Regions from separate parts of the Homo sapiens genome. Here region 1 is linked to region 2. Evidence: promoter capture Hi-C in 16 types of primary human blood cells and fetal thymus (Javierre and others, 2016). All regions are on one chromosome and are shown on one strand. Each heading gives the region's core, a stretch centred on a gene start or on the middle of the fragment in contact. The rest is flanking DNA. Distances are from core to core; before and after follow the strand shown.

What was found. The method cuts DNA at HindIII sites, captures the fragments that hold promoters and counts their contacts. A CHiCAGO score of 5 or more calls a contact.
Region 1: a fragment that was not itself captured here is called in contact with the fragment with the promoter of EIF4EBP1 in region 2 in 2 of 17 cell types (erythroblasts and megakaryocytes); the score reaches 6.9 in erythroblasts.

Annotation. Positions count from the first base shown.
Region 1 is chr8:38,170,195-38,174,237 of GRCh38, forward strand. It overlaps LSM1 (LSM1 homolog, mRNA degradation associated), which reads right to left. Exons shown (of 4, transcript NM_014462.3): 2 at 1,771-1,839. Among named protein-coding and RNA genes, the nearest start is that of LSM1, 4.3 kb to the right of the region's middle. The HindIII fragment of the contact is 671 bases long and covers 923-1,593 here.
Region 2 is chr8:38,027,615-38,032,063 of GRCh38, forward strand. It overlaps EIF4EBP1 (eukaryotic translation initiation factor 4E binding protein 1), which reads left to right and starts at 2,920. Exons shown (of 3, transcript NM_004095.4): 1 at 2,920-3,104. The coding sequence starts at 2,960. RefSeq lists a silencer at 2,701-3,140 and enhancers at 2,717-3,011, 3,641-3,740. The HindIII fragment of the contact is 5,036 bases long and covers 2,087-4,449 here.

The DNA.
Region 1 (4,043 bases), core at 8-2,507, 140 kb after region 2:
CACTCCCGGCTAATTCTGTATTTTTAGCAGAGACAGGGATCACCACATTGGCCAGGCTGGTCTTGAACTCCTGGCCTTGTGATCCGCCCACCTCGGCCTTCCAAAGTGCTGGGATTACAGGCGTGAGCCACAGTGCCGGGCCCCCAAGCTTTCTAATTCTGGGGAAGGCTAAAATTTCAAATAATCTTCTCCTATTTCATTGAGTAAGACGTACCAGTTAGGAGATGTCTGGGATTATGTTGGGCTAATACATGAATGACAGCAGAAATAAGAGAAATAAATTCCTTTATCAGTTAATTGCTAATACCAAAAAAAACCATAGGAAAATATAAATGAATAAGGAACTTGGAAAACTTGGGCCTAAACAACCACAGAGATCAAAACTTTTGTTTTCTGGAAAGAAACAGCTTTTCTTTTTGTGTGGGTGTGTATGTGATGATCTGCTGAAGATTCAACTTTCTTTTAGTAATTAGGATTCATTTGACCCAACGCAGGTATCCATGGGTTATGATACAGCAAAAACCTATTTTTTCACCTTGACAGATAACTATATTTGTAATCTAAAAGTCAACTTAATAGCCACTACCCTTCCCTCAAAGTACTCTGATGAATCTGACTTAAGAATCAGGACTCCAATTTGTTAACAATAATTATTTTTCCTCTTTCAATTAGTACTACTTGTCCTATTTGAAGTAAAGGAGAAATCTATGTTCATATCTTCCATAATCCTTTTAAGTGTTTTAATTACGTTTCTTCCTCATGCTCAAATCCAGTGATTTCGCAGATATCCAATAAATGTTAGCATGAACATGAAGTTCCTTGAAACAGAAGGAAACATAATCTTTTAACTTAAGAAAAATGCAGGATGCGAAACAAAGACAGAGGCCTCTTATTCCAATGTATCCCTATATGTAAAGTATTAAGCTTAATGTTGGGGTCCTTAAAATAAAGGAAATGCCTTCTACCCAATTTTCATTGGCTAGGGAGGGATTACCTTCACTTCCGGAACTGCTTTGAAGTCATTTTACCCTGCCAATGTAGAAATAAGCAGCCTTGGGCCGGGCACAATGGCTCGCGCCTATAATCTCAGCACTATGGGAGCTAAGACCAGCCTTCCAGCTGTCCCCACTGATGCACCAGACATGTGAGTGAAGCTCCTTCAAACCAGCTGACTCACCTTCTAGACACCAAGGGACTGTCCTAAAACCATGAGGAGCAGAACAACTGCCCAGCTCAGCTGGGTGGGTGGATCACCTAAGGTCAGGAGTTTGAAACCAGCCTGGCCAACATGGCGAAACCCCGTCTCTACTAAAAATACAAAAATTAGCTGGGGGTGGTGGCTGGAGCCTATAATCTCAGCTACTTGGGAGGCTGAGGCACAAGAATCACTTGAACCCAAGAGGCGGAGGTTGCAGTGAGCCAAGATTGTGCCACTGCACTCCAGCCTGGGTGACCGAGAGCGCGTCTAAACAAAAAACAAAACAAAACAAAACAAGCCTCTTCGGTGGACTGAGTTTATTTCTATCATTTGGCTCCCCCTACTGGGGATTCTACTGAAAGCCAGTTTTAGAAACGAGCTTGGAAATATATATAAGCTTTGAACCACCTAATCTGAATGTATAGAAAACAATGATGTACTCACTAAAATCAGTCCTACTAGGTCACACACGTGAAAAAGTTGCAGATAAATTTCAATATTAAATAACAAAAAATGCAATGGGCTGCTGTTATTATCCAGAGTATAAGAGATGTCCATAAATTAATACATACCAAATTGATCAATGCTTCTTAAAAAGCCTATAAGTGTCCTTCCATCTCGAAGCAGAACCAAGTGCTTTTCTGGGGAGAGAGGAAAAAATCTTTTAAATGAAAACTGACAAGTTCAGCGAGTATTTAGGATAATAATTAACAGTTTAAGCTGTACCACTTCCTCGGCCAATGCATTTAATGTGAAGTTCAAGTTCATTGGAAAACTGAAAAAAGCAGCACAGCAACGCGGATTTAGATAACATCAGTAGTGAAAAGAATCAGAGCAGTGTGGCAGAGTGGGAAAAGGACAGGGCGTGGCACCAGGAAGCCTGACTAGCTGGCTCTAGACCCTTATGTTGGTTTTTTTTTTTTCCTTTTTTCTTTTTTTTTTTTTTTGAGACAGAGTCTCACTCTGTCACCCAGGCTGCAGTGCAGTGGCACAATCTCGGCTTACTACAACCTCTGCCTCCCAGGTTCAAGCGATCCTCCTGCATCGGCCTCCTTAGTAGCTGGGACTACAGGAGTTTGCCACCATGCCTGGCTAATTTTCATATTTTTAGTAGAGATGGTGTATCACCATGTTAGCTAGGCTGGTCTCAAACTCCTGACTTCAGATGATCCATCCACCTCCACCTCCCAAAGTGCTGGGATTACAGGCGTGAACCATGGCGCCTAGCCAAAGACCCTTATGTTTGACACTTAAACCATCTCATGTCATGTCAGTTTTTATATCTGTAAATTGACAAATTTAATCTAGATGACTATTATCTTATTTGTAGAATTATTTTGTCCTCAAAAGATGAGCTTCTATCTCACATTTTGTTTGTAACCATAGAAGGCTTTAAATAAAAACACAATGCTTCAGGCATTTAAAATGAAGACTAATAATAAGCTAGAGCAGAAATTCAATGTTTACTGAGGGGGCATGTGCTGTTCTGGGGTCTAGACATACAGTAGAGAATGAGACTTAGAAAGTCACCAACCTTATGAATTTATATTCATGTTGGAGGAGGACAAATAAATAAGAAAATAACCTATTGTGATTAGGACAATGGAATAATAAACTAGCAAGGCAGTATGATGAAGGGAGAGAAGTGGTTACAGAAGGAAGGGTGGCAAGGGAAAGCCTCTCTGAAGAGGTGACTTTGAGCTGACACTGAAGAATGAAAATAAGCCAGTTACTAGCGCACCCAGCAAAATTTCTTTCATTCCATGCCTAAAGTACTTTCTAGATGCAGAACAGAGGAAAAACACAGTGACTCTGCCCTGAAGGAATTTATACTCTTCCTTGCGCTATAAATAAGTACCACAGAAAGCAAATCTTAATTATATGAGACTACAGAGAGAGAAACTGTATTTCTGAAGGAGGTATCAGAGTTGGACCTTAAAAGGTAGATAATTTTAGGGCACAAGAAGAGTGATAGGAAGGGGGCGGGGGGGGAGAAGGAAATCTGTAAATTAAAGAGGAGGAAAAAAGGGCTATACATCCATGTTTAGCTAAAAGCTGAGGGTGTGAAGGGAAAGAACAGTAGATAAAGTCAGAAAAGTACTGGGCGCAGGCTGCATCTGGATTTGACTTCATAGGGAACAAGAAAACATTAAGTGATGGAGTCTGTTTACTGAGTTTGTATAAGTGGGTATGTGTGAGAGGGTGGGGTGCTGAAGATGTGAGGTAAAGATGTAGGAGTTTTATGAGACATCACAAAACTATTTACCAAGAGTTGGGAATAAAAGCAGCAAGCTCAGGGTGAAGGTTATTAGCTCTTTGTGATTCTAAAGTGCTATCAGGACACTTAATAGAAACACACGCAGATAGTTGGAAACAGTAAGACTGGAAAACCAAAGACATCAAGATTAGAGAAAGCAATTTTGGATAAATCTACAAAGAGGTGATATAAAAAACTAAAGTACAGGAGATCTACTAAAGATTTAAAGAAGTAGGCCACATGTAATCCAAGTGACCATCTATTTTGGAGAACAGTAAGAGCCAGAGAAGTAAGAAAATCACCAAGTACCAGTTGTTAGAGAAATCAAGAGAAGAGAATTAAAGAATCTGGTGGGGAGAGTATCACAGTGCTGCAAAGGGGAGAGAACACAGAAGAAGACCTTAGACGAATAACTTTGAAGAATGCAGCTTGAGTAATTTCAGGATAAAAATTAGATTGCAGGAGTAATGTAAGTAGTCTATTGAAGGTGATCAAGAAACAGACAAAATGAAAATGACTCGAGGTTTGGGGATAAAGATATGAAAAAAGGGATGGGCATATGAAGAGAACGGAGAAAATATTTGAGAT
Region 2 (4,449 bases), core at 1,670-4,169:
TTTTTTTTGAGATGGAGTCTCGCTCTGTCACCCAGGATGGGTGCAGTGGCACGATCTCAGCCCACTGCAACTTCTGCCTCCCAGTTTGAAGCGATTATCCTGCCTTAGCCTCCCGAGTAGCTGGGACTACAGGCGTCTGCCATCATGCCCGGGTAATTTTTTTTTTTCGTATTTTTAGTAGAGATGGGGTTTCACCGTGTTAGCCAGGATGGTCTCAATCTCCTGACCTCGTGATCTGCCCCCCTCGGCCTACCAAAGTGTTGGGATTACAGGCGTGAGCCACCACACCCGGCCTGAAACTCTCTCTTTTTTGAAACAAGGTCTTACTATGTTGCCCAGGCTGGTCTCTGAACTCCCGGCCTCAAGCAATCCTCTGGCCTTGTAATCCCAGCTAGGGCTGGGATTACAAGTGCACATCGCTGCAACCAGCAAGGCCTGGTCTATTTTTATCTTATATTATTTATTTATTTTTTGAGCCCTGGCTGGAGTGCAGTGGTGCAATCTTGGCTCATGGCAACCTCCACCTCTGGGGCTCAGGTCATCTTCCTACCTCATCCTTGAAAGTAGCTGGGACCACAGGTGTGAGCCACAACACTGGGCTAATTTTTAAATTTTTTTGTAGAGACAGAGTTTCACCATGTTGCCCAGGCTTGTCTCAAACTCCTGAGCCCAAGCAGTCTGCTCACCTCGGTCTCCAAATGTGCTGGTATTACAGGTGTGATCCACAGCACCTGGATGAAATTAATTTTTTTTTTTTTTTTTTTTTGAGACGGAGTCTCACTCTGTCACCCAGGCTGGAGTGCAGTGGCAGATCTCTACTCACTACAACCTCTGCCTCCCAGGTTCAAGCAATTCTCCACCTCAGCCTCCCGAGTAGCTGGGATTACAGGCACCCGCCACTGTGCCCGGTCTGTTGTTTTTGTTTGTTTGTTTGTTTGTTTTGTTTTTTTGTATTTTTAGTAGAGACAGGGTTTCACCATCTTGGCCAGGCTGGTCTTGAACTCCTGACCTCATGATCCACCCGCCTAGGCCTCCCAAAGTGGTGGGATTACAGGCGTGAGCCACTGCACCCAGCCGAAATTTATTTTTTTTTCTTTTGAGACAGAGTCTTGCTCTGACGCCAGGCTGGAGTGCAGTGGCATGATTTCAGCTCACTGCAACCTCTGCCTCCCAGGTTCAAGCAATTCTCCTGCCTCAGCCTCCCGAGTAGCTGGGACTACAGGCATGCGCCACCATGCCCAGCTAATTTTTTTTATATTTTTAGTAGAGACAGGGTTTCACCATGTTGTCCAGGATGGTCTCGATCTCTTGACCTCATGATCCGCCTGCCTCGGCCTCCCAACGTGTTGGGATTACAGGCGTGAGCCACTGCGCCTGGCCCAAAATTAATTTTTATAATGTATTTTTCTTAACCCAGTATACTCAAAATATTATCAGTTCAACATACAATCAATATAGAAACAAATTATTCAGGTATTTTACATGATTTTCTTCACACTAAGTCTTTGAAATATGGTGTGTATGTTAAACTTGTGACAGTTTGGACTGGTCACATTTGGAGTGCTCAATGTGCACCTGTAGCTGGTGGCTACTGTCTTAGCCACTGTAGGCCTAAAGTTTCCCTCAAAAGTGAGACCAAACTCAACAGGTCTCCCTATCTCAGGCCTTGCCCTCCTTGGCCCATTCTGAAACTCCACTGGCTACTAGTTATCCTTCCAAAAAACAACTCAAATCATGTCATCCCCCTGCTTAAAAGATCTCTGATATCTCCTGCCCTTCTAAGACAAAGTCCAAGCACTTTGGCATAATTTGAAAAACTCAACGACCTGACCCCAATTTCCTTTTTAAAAAATTATTATATATTTTTTTAGAGATAGGGTCTCTGTCACAAAGGGTGGAGTGCAGTGGTGTGATCACAGCTCACTGGAGCCTCAAACCCCTGGGCTCAAGCATCCTCCAGCCTCAGCTTCCTGAGTAGCTGGGATTACAGGTGCACCACCCAATTTCCCTTTTAAACTGCCCTCCCCTCTTCACCCTCTTCCCCACAATATGTGCCCATAATGCTAAGAACTTCTCAAACCCAACAAGCTTTTCCATCCTCGGTCCTTCTTGCATTTTTCTCTCTCCCCTTGAACATCCATCCATCCATCCATCCATCCATCCATCCATCCATCCATCCAAGGAGTACCTACTAAACCTCAGGTGGACGTTGGACTCAATTCAGGGGCTATCGGGAAACCTCTTCGACACTCTTACTCCTCTCCAACGCCCTTCCCCACCACCCACCTCTGCGCCCCCAGCTCTAAATTTAGCTCCCAGGACGCCGCTGGTTGGTTCACTCCTCCTCCCACACCCTCTCTAAAGGCCGGGAACGGAATTGTTAGCCCCTCCACCCCCACCCCCATCAAGGTCAAGAAATTGAAGCGGGGCGGGGGGCGGTGAGCATAACTACTCAATCCCCATTTTCTCATCTGAGGAACTAAGGCACGAAACAGGGAGTGCCGAAGGGTACACCAGGCCTGATGTCCTAATGCAGAAACCGGGCCTTCCTGCAGTGGGCCGGGTCAGCTCGGATCTCCGCGCGGTCCTGAGTCGCCGCCCCCAACCCAGCCAAGGATTAATTTAGGCGAGCTATCCCGCCCGCCATCCCCATATCCGTCCCTGCCAGCGTGGCGGGGAGGGACCCCGGACGGAGGGGCAGTCGCTGCGGGGCGGCGCCAGCGCCCGTGCGGAAGAGCCCGTGAGCAGACGGGAGTGGGTCGGGGGGCGGCGGGGGATCCCACGTGGAAGCAGCGTCCTGGAGCTGGGTGGGGCTGCGGCGCGGACTACAAATCCCAGGGGCGTGGGGCGGGAGAGGCGGAAGGGGCGTCCTGGGGCGGGGCGGCACGGGGCGAGGCGGAGCGAGGCTGGAGGCGCGGGAGGGCAGCGAGAGGTTCGCGGGTGCAGCGCACAGGAGACCATGTCCGGGGGCAGCAGCTGCAGCCAGACCCCAAGCCGGGCCATCCCCGCCACTCGCCGGGTGGTGCTCGGCGACGGCGTGCAGCTCCCGCCCGGGGACTACAGCACGACCCCCGGCGGCACGCTCTTCAGCACCACCCCGGGAGGTAGGCGCGGGCTTGGCGACGCCGCTTGCCGGCTCCTGGGCGGGCGGGAGGATCGGGAATCGCGGATTGGACCGGGTGTCCAGGCTCAAGGGCGCCGTGATTGGAAAGAACGGAAAAGGGGCATCGGAGAGACAGCGAGGGTCATGGAAGTGGCCGCCCGCTTCCCCTCTGAGTGCGTCTTCCAGACCCGAGTTACAAACTGCCCCGTTTGTTTCCTCTTTCTGTTAGGTGTCAGACAGCTGACACCTAACAAACACGCACGCCTCCAGGACAGCCACATGCCGAGCTGTGCTGCCCCTTGTGGGTGTTGGGGGCGCTCCCGAAGCGGGAGAGGGCGGAGTTAGGGTGGCCCACGATCCAGGAGAGGCCTGGCCTGGTGTTTTTATGGGATGGGTATTATCTGTTGGGATAAACGATTCCTGCAGGGCCCTTTTTCCTTCCCGAAGCACGCCGAGTTTTGTGTTGGACTCGCGCGCTCTGACTGAGGTTCGGATCTGGGGGTGCTTGCCTGCTCCAGCAGCGCCTCCCGGGCACCTGTGGCACGTTCCCCATTTACGCGAGTGGGATCTCCGCGGGGGGGACCCTGGCGCCACGGCCAGGGCTGTGCAGAAAAACACGTTCTTCTGTCCGGGGAGAGGAGGAGGCACCGTGTGACCTCCCTGGGAGAGGATGAGGAAGAGGAAGCTGAGCTGGCACGGGTGGGGGGGCCAGCCTCGGGCTGCCCTCAGGAACCTGGCATTCCCTCCCAGCCCCGGAGCCCCAGCGCACAGACGCTGATGAAACCTACGCGCCTGTTTGCATGATGAAATAAATCCTCGTGGCTCTCTCCTCCCCTCTCATTGTCGCACTGCCCCCACCCCTTTTTGCTCCTCTCCCTTCATTCTCCTCCACGCTGCTTTCCATACTACTAGAAAACGCGACAGATCCTGGCGCTTGGCTAGGTGGCGGGCGGGGGCCACATGCTTATTTTCTCAGGCAGCTGTCCCACCAGCAGCGAGCGCGGCCAGATCCGAGGTCCTCTGCTGTTTGATCCAAAACATACACTGTTAGAACGGTTAGGGATCTTGTCCAGCCCTGCCGTCTTATTCTACAGAGCCCGGCATTGAGGCCCCAGAGCTTGAACACGTGTCTGTTGCCCATTGTCACACCGTTTTCCCAGATTGGACAAGAAATAGCAACCAGGCAGAGAAGGGAGAAATGCTTCCTTTTCTATTAGAAATGAGCCAAGGAAAAGCTCGCAGGGGCTCTTGTTGCCATTCCCGACTCATCCTCTTTCCCTTGCTGGGTCTTTTGTAGTCCATGCTGTTCTCCTTTGTCTCTGTCACAATGGTCTACCAGGACAATT